Linked DNA regions of Homo sapiens: region 1 is linked to region 2. Evidence: promoter capture Hi-C in 16 types of primary human blood cells and fetal thymus (Javierre and others, 2016). All regions are on one chromosome and are shown on one strand. Each heading gives the region's core, a stretch centred on a gene start or on the middle of the fragment in contact. The rest is flanking DNA. Distances are from core to core; before and after follow the strand shown. Region 1 holds the start of MPP7 (MAGUK p55 scaffold protein 7). Region 2 holds the start of ODAD2 (outer dynein arm docking complex subunit 2).

Region 1 (4,056 bases), core at 575-3,074, 300 kb before region 2:
TTCATTGCAGTATCTAGTATTTGATGATTAATATTGATTACGTTTGATGAGTAAATGAATAAAAGAATAATCTTAGACATACATTATTTAATCCCAGTGAAAGAATGTTAGTGATGGAATTTCAGGTGTTATTGTAGAAGAAACTTTTGAAGGGTATTCCCTACAGTTTGTTCATACTAGGCTAAGTTCCTCTTCTTTTCCTTACACAATGTAAAAATATTAGATCTCAAAACTATTTGCTCAAAGTACTTACTTTAGGACACGTATTTTTAGACTACAGTTTAGAATTACAGTTATTATTAGAAAGGTTTGGTAAAAACTCTTTTTGTTAGGCAATAAGGTTATTCTGTCCTCCAAAGACCTTTACTTTATTCTCAGGAAGTAAGAGAGAAAAAAGAATTTCTTGTCTTCTTTCTATCAGGTGTTTTGCCCTTACTTCTCTTTAAGTTTATGTTTACCTTAACATTCCTTTCCTTCCTCAGGTTTGCTTTTTGTCTATCTCCATTTTTCACTATTACGTAATTCACGGAGTTGCTGGGGGGAAGTGCTTAATTTCAAATAGCCTGTTTTAGAACTTTGCGAGAATGACAAGAACAAACAGAATGTTAAGGCAGCTAGAGAGAGTTAAGTGAGAGTGGTCCCTAGGTGAGAAATGCTTCTTGCCTTCTAGGCTGACACCAGTTCTGGGGGATGTGTTCTGAGAGCTCATATTAACTGCAGGTCATTGATCCTTATCTCAATCCCCTTCCTCTCCCTTCAGCTTTCCATTCAAAGTCTCTATCACATCTTGAAGTGTTGTCACATTATTTTTTTTCTGATGATTCCCTCCATCAGCTGAGCTTTCCAATTTATATTACCTGATTTTTTTTTGTCTTCTGCTTTTTACTACCCCTTTTTCTAAAGCTTTATTGATTGTGTACTTTGGATTCTAATTCTTCCTATAAGAGTCTTCCTGTAATTCTGTTTGCAGTGTAGTGCTGTCCACATTATGTGTTGGTTACATGATAGGAAGGAGTATGGGGGCACCTCGGTCACATATGTAAAGTTCTTTAAGAGAGCTGAAGGGCGCTGATACCAGTTCATGTTTTTTCGGGGTAGCCCTCAGATATTAAGCATGTTTACTGTATTTTCTTCTATTGTGAAAGAATCAGTTCTCTGGATTTCCTTAAAGTTTGTCTTTACCATTCTCCGCACCCTACTCATTTTTCTATTTAAGAATTTTTTTTTCTAATCATGTAGTACATGTTCAATATGGAACACAAAAAGGTAATAAGAAAAAGTCACCTACAGTGTCGCCAAAGGTGAAAACACCTTATGTCTTTTTTCGTGCATAACAATATCCCTCTCAATCTTATGCAGCATTTTTAAACCTAGGAGACTTGTCTGAATCCAAAGGAAGTTAAAGATTACGTTATTCACCAAGTTCATACTGAAATCAGAGAATCGCAGCGGCTTAAGAAAACTCGCATCTGGCGAATGAACCTGCGTATCCGGGGTTCTCCTCAGGGAGGTTGCTCGTCCATGAAACACACTCCAGTCTGCAGCCACCTGGGAGTGGGAACCAAGGGCGAGCGAACCGGGCGGGCAGGGGTGGAACTTGCGGGGACTGCGGGTATGAGGAGGAGCTACAGAGCTGTCACCAATCAGAGCCCAGCTTTGTTTTCTCTTGCCGACCAATGAGGGAGTTCTGCTGGAGAGGCGTCTTCAAGTCTGAGACGCCTATCGCCTTCGCAGCCTATCAGCAGGCCCCTCTTACCCGCGGGCGGTGCAGCCCCGCCCCGCCCCTCCAACCGCGGTCCCGCCCCTCCGAGGGTGGGGGCCGTGTTGGTTACTAGCCGGGCTGGAGGCGGGGGCCGGGCTCCCACTGGGCTCGTGCGTTCTGCGCCCGCCGCGGCGGTGCCGAGCCCGCTGGCTCCCGATTGTCCTCTGCGGCGGTGGCGGTCGCTGCCTCCTTGCCTCCGGGCCCGGGGCTGCAGGGGCCAGAGCGAGTGCGCCTCCTGCCCGCGGACCGCGGCAGCCCAGAGCAGGTAATGGGGCGCCTCTGGGGAGCGCCTGTCGGAGCCCAGGGCTAGGCTCGGGCGGTGGGGTCGGCCCCCGAAGCTGCTCCCTGCGCCGGCGACCGGGCCGAGCGGTGCCGCGGTCCTCCGGAGCCTCCTGCCGGCCTCTAGGCGCCTCAGCCTGGGAGCCCGCGGCGGGCACCTTGTGAGGAGGTGGGGGCGGGGCCGGGGCAGGGGCGGGGCCGCCTCGGGCGGGACCCTGAGGACCCCTGGAGACCCCTGTTGACGCGCGGGACTCCGGGCGGGGGCGGCGGCGGGGCAGACCCAGAGCGGGGAGAACCGACAGGTGGAGGAAAAACTGCGGAGTTGAGTCAGAGTCCGGCTCCCCGGGGAAAAGAACCGACTGAAAGGGAGCGATAAGCTGGCTGGCTTCTTTTTTTTCTTTCCCTAAGCCAGAAAGGCGTCTTCACTTGGGTCGTGTTAATTACATGTTTTCTGAGAACAGGCGTTTGGCCGTGTAATCTACACGATAGCATTATTTATTTACTTATTTGCTATTTAAAAAATTAAAAGCAGCATTTAGCGTGAATCTATTTGGGGGCTTTTTCTTAAGTGACAGGTAGACCCAGCCGAGTAACTCAGCTTTGTCTGGGCTGAAGTGGGGAGCGGTGAGGTAGGAATGAGGGGGAGGAGTGTTCGTGAGGAATGCCTGTGCAGGTTTGAAAGGATTGTGGGGGTGGGACCTTGTTTCTGTCACTGTGCCATGGGTGGGAGTAGAATTGTGATTTTTTTCTTTTTCTAATTTTTAAAAGCAATATTCACATTTAAAAAAGGGGGGGCTCTCTAAAAACAGTCTCTGTACTCGAGGCTTTGGGGATGCACCTGCTAGTCAGGCAGTAATAGTTTGCAGGTAAATCCTGGGCTATTAATTACGTAATTTGATTTACTTATAAAGAAGTATCTTGAATTGTTGCTGCCTTTCCTTTGACTTGCTCAATATATTGCTTGTTTACAAGTGAATTGATGAAGGTCACTGAGTTTTAGCGGTAATGTCACAGCGATGGCCCTTGGAGAGTTTTCTATGCTCAGGTTCACTCTGGTTCTATAAAAACAGTATTTCCATTTAATCGTGAAGCTCATAGCACTCTATCAATTATATAGTATGCCATCCTCCTACTCTTCTGAGGCAGGCTGTGCATAGCATGTCCATTTTACAGGTATGTCAACTGAAAGCCCTAGAAATGAAAGGAATCCTGCCCCACTTTACTCCTACTTTATTTTATACCTATAATGGATTTAATCCAAAATCTGGGTAAGATTCCCGCCATCAAGCCAACTTCTGCATACCAATTTGATCCCGTATACACAGGTCAGAGGTGGAGATGGTTATTTTCAAGTAAAGAAATATTATCTGCGAGGTTTTTCTTTCCATTCAGGTTGCTTAGCTAGTTTGAATTTCAGGTGAAAGGTAATTTTCCACACAGGCAAAACAAACAAAAGTTAGGAATGCTGTGTGAAAATCTCTATTTTAAATTTTGGGAAGCTTTCCAAATTAGAGAACCTTATTTGTGTTTGCATCTCTAGCTCAGCATTGAATTTCGGTACCTTTTTTTGAATTGAATAGAAATAATTGATATGCAGAAGGAAAATACTAATGAAGTGTAATGCATTTTGATCATGACTTATGACTTTGTTTCGGGAAGTGTTTACTGTAAATTTATAGACGGATTGAAGAATAATTTCTTAATTAGAATAACTTGACCAAAGGAGTTTGGGCATTAGTGTGGGACAGGCTGAAATGGGTAGTTGGGAGTAGCCGCTTGTATGATGTTAAGGCTTAGGGAATTCTAGAGAATCGTTAGGTTTTGTTAAATTTACTAGTTATCAGGAACATGAAAATGTCTTATGGATTACTGAATGGAACTCTTTTTTTTTTTTTTTCTGAGGTGGAGTCTCACTCTGTTGTCCAGGCTGGAGTGCTGTGGCTCACTGTGATCTCTGCCTCCCTGGTTCAAGTGATTCTCCTGCCTCAGCCTCTTGAGTAGCTGGGACTACAGGC
Region 2 (4,392 bases), core at 407-2,906:
CAACTTGGCATGAATTTGGCAAACAACGACATAGTTGCTCAGATCTTGGTGGGTTCTGGCTTTTTCCAGCTTTGCAAACCAAGGTGAAATGTCCTGAACTTGGAAGATCTCTGGCTGGCATCCACATTGGACCCAGTAATGCTCCCTTATGTCATACAGCTGATTAAAATGTGCAGAGGAACTAAAGTACCCACAGAAGCTTCCTTGCTTCCAGGACTGGGACTACTCCAGGATCCTTCCGAAGGATGCCCTCTGCTCCTCACCAGGTTGTGACCTGCATTACCGCCACAGGTGTGATGCTGTTGTCTCAGACTGTAATCCACCCATTTTTAAAAGGGCTTCTCTGTATACCTATTAGCATAAGCCCCTTTCTCACTGGTTGCAAGTCTAAGCTTCTCTGCAGGTAGTATCTCCTTTAGGTGAAACTATTCCATTCCTAACAACTTTCGCACTTTCAAAAAGAGAAGAAAAGAACCCAAAACAGGCCAGGCATGGTGGCTCATGCCTGTAATCCTAGCACTTTGGGAGGCCGAGGTGGGTGGATCACTTGAGGTCAGGAGTTCAAGACCCACCTGGCCAACATGGTGAAACTTCGTCTCTACTAAAAGTACAAAAATTAGCCGGGCATGGCGGCGCATTCTTGTAATCCCAGCTACTCAGGAAGCTGAGGGGGGAGGATCTCTTGAACCCGGGAGGCAGAGGTTGCGGTGAGCCGAGATGGGAGGCAGAGGTTGCGGTGAGCCGAGATCGTGCCACTGCACTCCAGCCTGGGTGATAGAGCCAGACTTCGTCCCCCACCCTCCAAAAAACCCAAAACAAAGGACAAATATCTATACCTCATATCCCTACGTGTTTGCAGAAAGGTTCTGCTTTGAGCTGAATCCGTATAATATTATGACAGGTGATATCCTAACATCATTCCACATTTGCCTCTTTGGCATCCGGAAAAGAATCCAGTTTTAATTCCTAAACACCCCATCATCCTAAGTGCTCCGGCATTGGTCCTTAAACACCGTGTCCCCCCACCCCAAGATAGTGCATTCTTCCCCATCCCCCCCCACCTCAATATTCCCACTCCTTTATCCCTCACTGGTGTTCCAGTTGGGGCTCTTGCTGGTAGGGTGTCTAGAGGTGGGGTCAAAACCATCTTAATGGACAAAGGTAAAGGCCATTTAAAAAAAGAGATGGGGGACATGTTTTCATTTCACTCCGATCCTCTGCCCTATTGAAGAGCGCTTTCTGCTTTCCCGGTGAGTATCAGAGTATTCTACCATATTTGTTTTTTTGGAGAGAAACATGTAAGCCTCAAATATCCTAGGAGAAGCCCTATGCTATTTGGGGGTACTCAGTGAAGATTTCAGGTACATACAACGCACTTGTCTGGAAGCCTATGGAAAAATGTAAAAAGGGGTTTCTAAGGAATATTTTCTGCTTCCTTTCTGCTCCATTTTAAGTTTTCTGCTAACTTGCCGCCGACCCCGCAACTGCTCACGACCTCTGTCAAAGTCAACCTTTCCCACCGCGTGGAGTGAGTTAGGGTGCACACTCGGGAGTTGCATAAAAGTGTTTGAGAAAGGGAGATGCAAAGTTGAATAAAAGTGTTTCCCGGGAGGGGCCGAGCGGAAAGCAGCAGGTGGCCGGGGCGGGTGGAACCCAGCGCGGGCGCAGAGCGTCTCTGGCGCGGGCATACGGTGCAACGGGTCCGCGGGAATCTTGGATGCGCGGAGGTCCCGAGACCAGGGTAACGGACTGGGCTGCGGTCGCGGCCGGGTGAGGCTGGGAGCGGAAGGCGGCGGCGGCGGCGCCCGGGGGAGGGCACGGGCCCTGTAGGCCTCCCACAAGGGCGCCGGCGTGCGCGGCCGCAGGGCGCGCAGTGTTGACCCGCGTCCTAGCAACAGGCGGGCGCCGACTGCGGGGGGCAGGGTGCTGCAGGTGAGTGCGGCTGGGGGTCTCCACGCTCACCCCCGCAGGGGTTCTGCAGCCGCCCGCGTGGATCGGGAAACAGAGGCGGCTCTCTGGCCCCGCCGCTGCCGCTCTCGCCTGCTCCCCTTTCCCTCCCGGGGACCAAGACCCGCCCCCTTCCCTTCTCTCTCCCAGCCCCATCTCACTCCTTCCTCCCCGCGAGACCCTGCCTCGGCCCTAGGTTGGGGACCGTCTGCTCCTCAGTCCCTGCGCCCCTCTCTGCACTACCTCGGCCCCATCACCTCCCGGATCCGCTCTCCACTTCTCCCGCCGCTTCCCTGCCTCTCCTTCCCCCAGCCCGTCTTTCTCCTCCGCCCTTTGCAGCTCTGCCTCCCGCTCCCAGCGTGGTTTTCGCCGTCCCTTCCCTCCTCGTCCCCTTACCGAATCCATTCCTGGAAACTTAGGGTCTCAGCTCTGACGCCCCCTTCTTGTAACGAGTCTGGTGGGGGCCGTCATCCCACACTAGGCTTAGCTTTGGTTTTACTTAGGGCCCTGTTCATGTCATGTCTAAAAGTTCGATTTTCTGTCGGTCTTACTGAGTAACTTCTGCATTCTCAGAAAGCAGTGTATGCGCGGACTCCCCGTGGATGTTACCAACCACATTTCATAGATCTCAGAGCTGATGGCTGCCTTTCCGTAGCCCCCTAAAGAATTCGGTTGTGCTTCTGTTTAAGTGTTAACGATGTGATTACCGAATGGGTTTCATTTCACTAATGATGCTGGAAGCTTGAAATTGACCTTTAGAAAGAAAAACAATCTGTGGTATCTATTGGATAAAGAGAAAAATGAGTGCTAAGTGATTCCCAGTTTATGTAAACATCCCAGTTTATGTAAACACGTAACCAAAACTTTTTTCCTTTTAATCTTTAAACTTACTTTCTTTACTTCAAAGGTGTGTGCTGTGTATTTACATGGATTCATTTTAACTATGGTTCTTAAGCCAAAAGAGCTTGGCAATGGGCAGAAACCGGGGAGCAACTGGTCTTGATTTTAAAATCTTAGTTTTGAGTTATGCCGACCATTTTTGAACACCATTTATTTATTTATTTATTTTCTAATAACATTGATCTTGCCTTCTGGATTGTCATAGGCCACCCTGAGGTTTTCTTAAACTCACCAACCTTCTTGAATAAAACTTGTGCATTGCTACGGTTCACTAGACTTGGAAATACAATTTGAATAGATTCAAATGTTACATTTCTGTCAAAATTTATCTTGACGAAAATAACGATTTTGCATTTCTTAATTCTGTGTTAAGGGTCCTTCAAGAAGTTACTATATGGTATGTTGACTACCATAGCGTTACATAATCTATTTAATTTCGCATTTTTTCTTTAAAAATGTGCAAGAAGCAATCTTTATAAGATTACCAAAACAAATGTTATACTTAAGATTAAAGACAGACAGAACTTTCACCTAAGCCTTTCTGTATAAGATAAAGCTATTTGCACTTATTTCACACTATTTTACACTGATTTGCACTTATTTTACACAACAATGGGAAATTCAAGAGTCTCACACATACACATCAGAACATGTTTATGTGTTTAAATCTAAAGCATTTCTCATCGGTTAGCAATAGAAACAAAATGCTAGAATACTAAAACAAACACCCAGAACAAATTTGTGCACTAATTTCTGCACTTTATTTCATGACCACTTTGGTATATATGTCTGGATCAGTTGTTCTCCACCCTATCTGATCCAGTACTTGGTTTTTATAGCATATATGTTGTAAGGCTGCTTTGCTATCCTGAAATCAATATCATAGATTATAATCTTACATATTTAATATAGTTTTAAATATTGATAGTGTGCTAACTGTAAAATGAAAGAAAATAATTGTAAGAAAAGATTGGCATGTAAACGCTCAAGTACCACTACACTAGAATATATAGGGAAGTAGTCAGATGTCCAGCCTTACACAGAATGACTGTGAACACAGCAGCCCCAAATGCAGACTGATACAGATGTGCCATTGCAACTTAAATTTCTCAAATAACATTGCCATCAATGGTGTCATTTTCCAAAATGCTGAGCTCTTGGTAAAATTCCATGTAAAACAAAATATGTACAACCTTCTTTTCGTTTATGGTAGCTACAATTCTGGAAAATTCAGGGTGTAATAAAACTGTGACAAAATACTCTGCAATTTTTGCAAAGTGCAGAAAAATTCTAGGCTCAGGTAGTGCTTATCTGAAGTTTTTCACTTACTAGATGCCTGGAGGTTACAGCAGAATTCTTCCTTCTGAGGTACTATCCTGCACAGGATATTTTACATTGTCGGTCCTCAACACTAAAGGCCGATAATGCCCCCTTTCCTATCATGTTGATAACTAGACATCTCTATAATATTTCTATACTCTTTATCAGCAGGAAGTACTGCCCTGTTGCCATCCAGTGATCTCCTGTGATTGAATTTAATAGATA

The links. The method cuts DNA at HindIII sites, captures the fragments that hold promoters and counts their contacts. A CHiCAGO score of 5 or more calls a contact.
Region 1: the fragment with the promoter of MPP7 here is called in contact with the fragment with the promoter of ODAD2 in region 2 in 5 of 17 cell types (endothelial precursors, naive CD8 T cells, M2 macrophages and 2 more); the score reaches 8.4 in endothelial precursors.

Annotation. Positions count from the first base shown.
Region 1 is chr10:28,300,832-28,304,887 of GRCh38, reverse strand. It overlaps MPP7 (MAGUK p55 scaffold protein 7), which reads left to right and starts at 1,824. Exons shown (of 17, transcript NM_001318170.2): 1 at 1,824-2,027. MPP7-DT (MPP7 divergent transcript) reads right to left here and starts at 1,719. Exons shown (of 2, transcript XR_930772.3): 1 at 459-1,719. RefSeq lists a silencer at 1,638-2,277. The HindIII fragment of the contact is 2,637 bases long and covers 906-3,542 here.
Region 2 is chr10:27,996,343-28,000,734 of GRCh38, reverse strand. It overlaps ODAD2 (outer dynein arm docking complex subunit 2), which reads left to right and starts at 1,656. Exons shown (of 20, transcript NM_018076.5): 1 at 1,656-1,741. The HindIII fragment of the contact is 2,296 bases long and covers 395-2,690 here.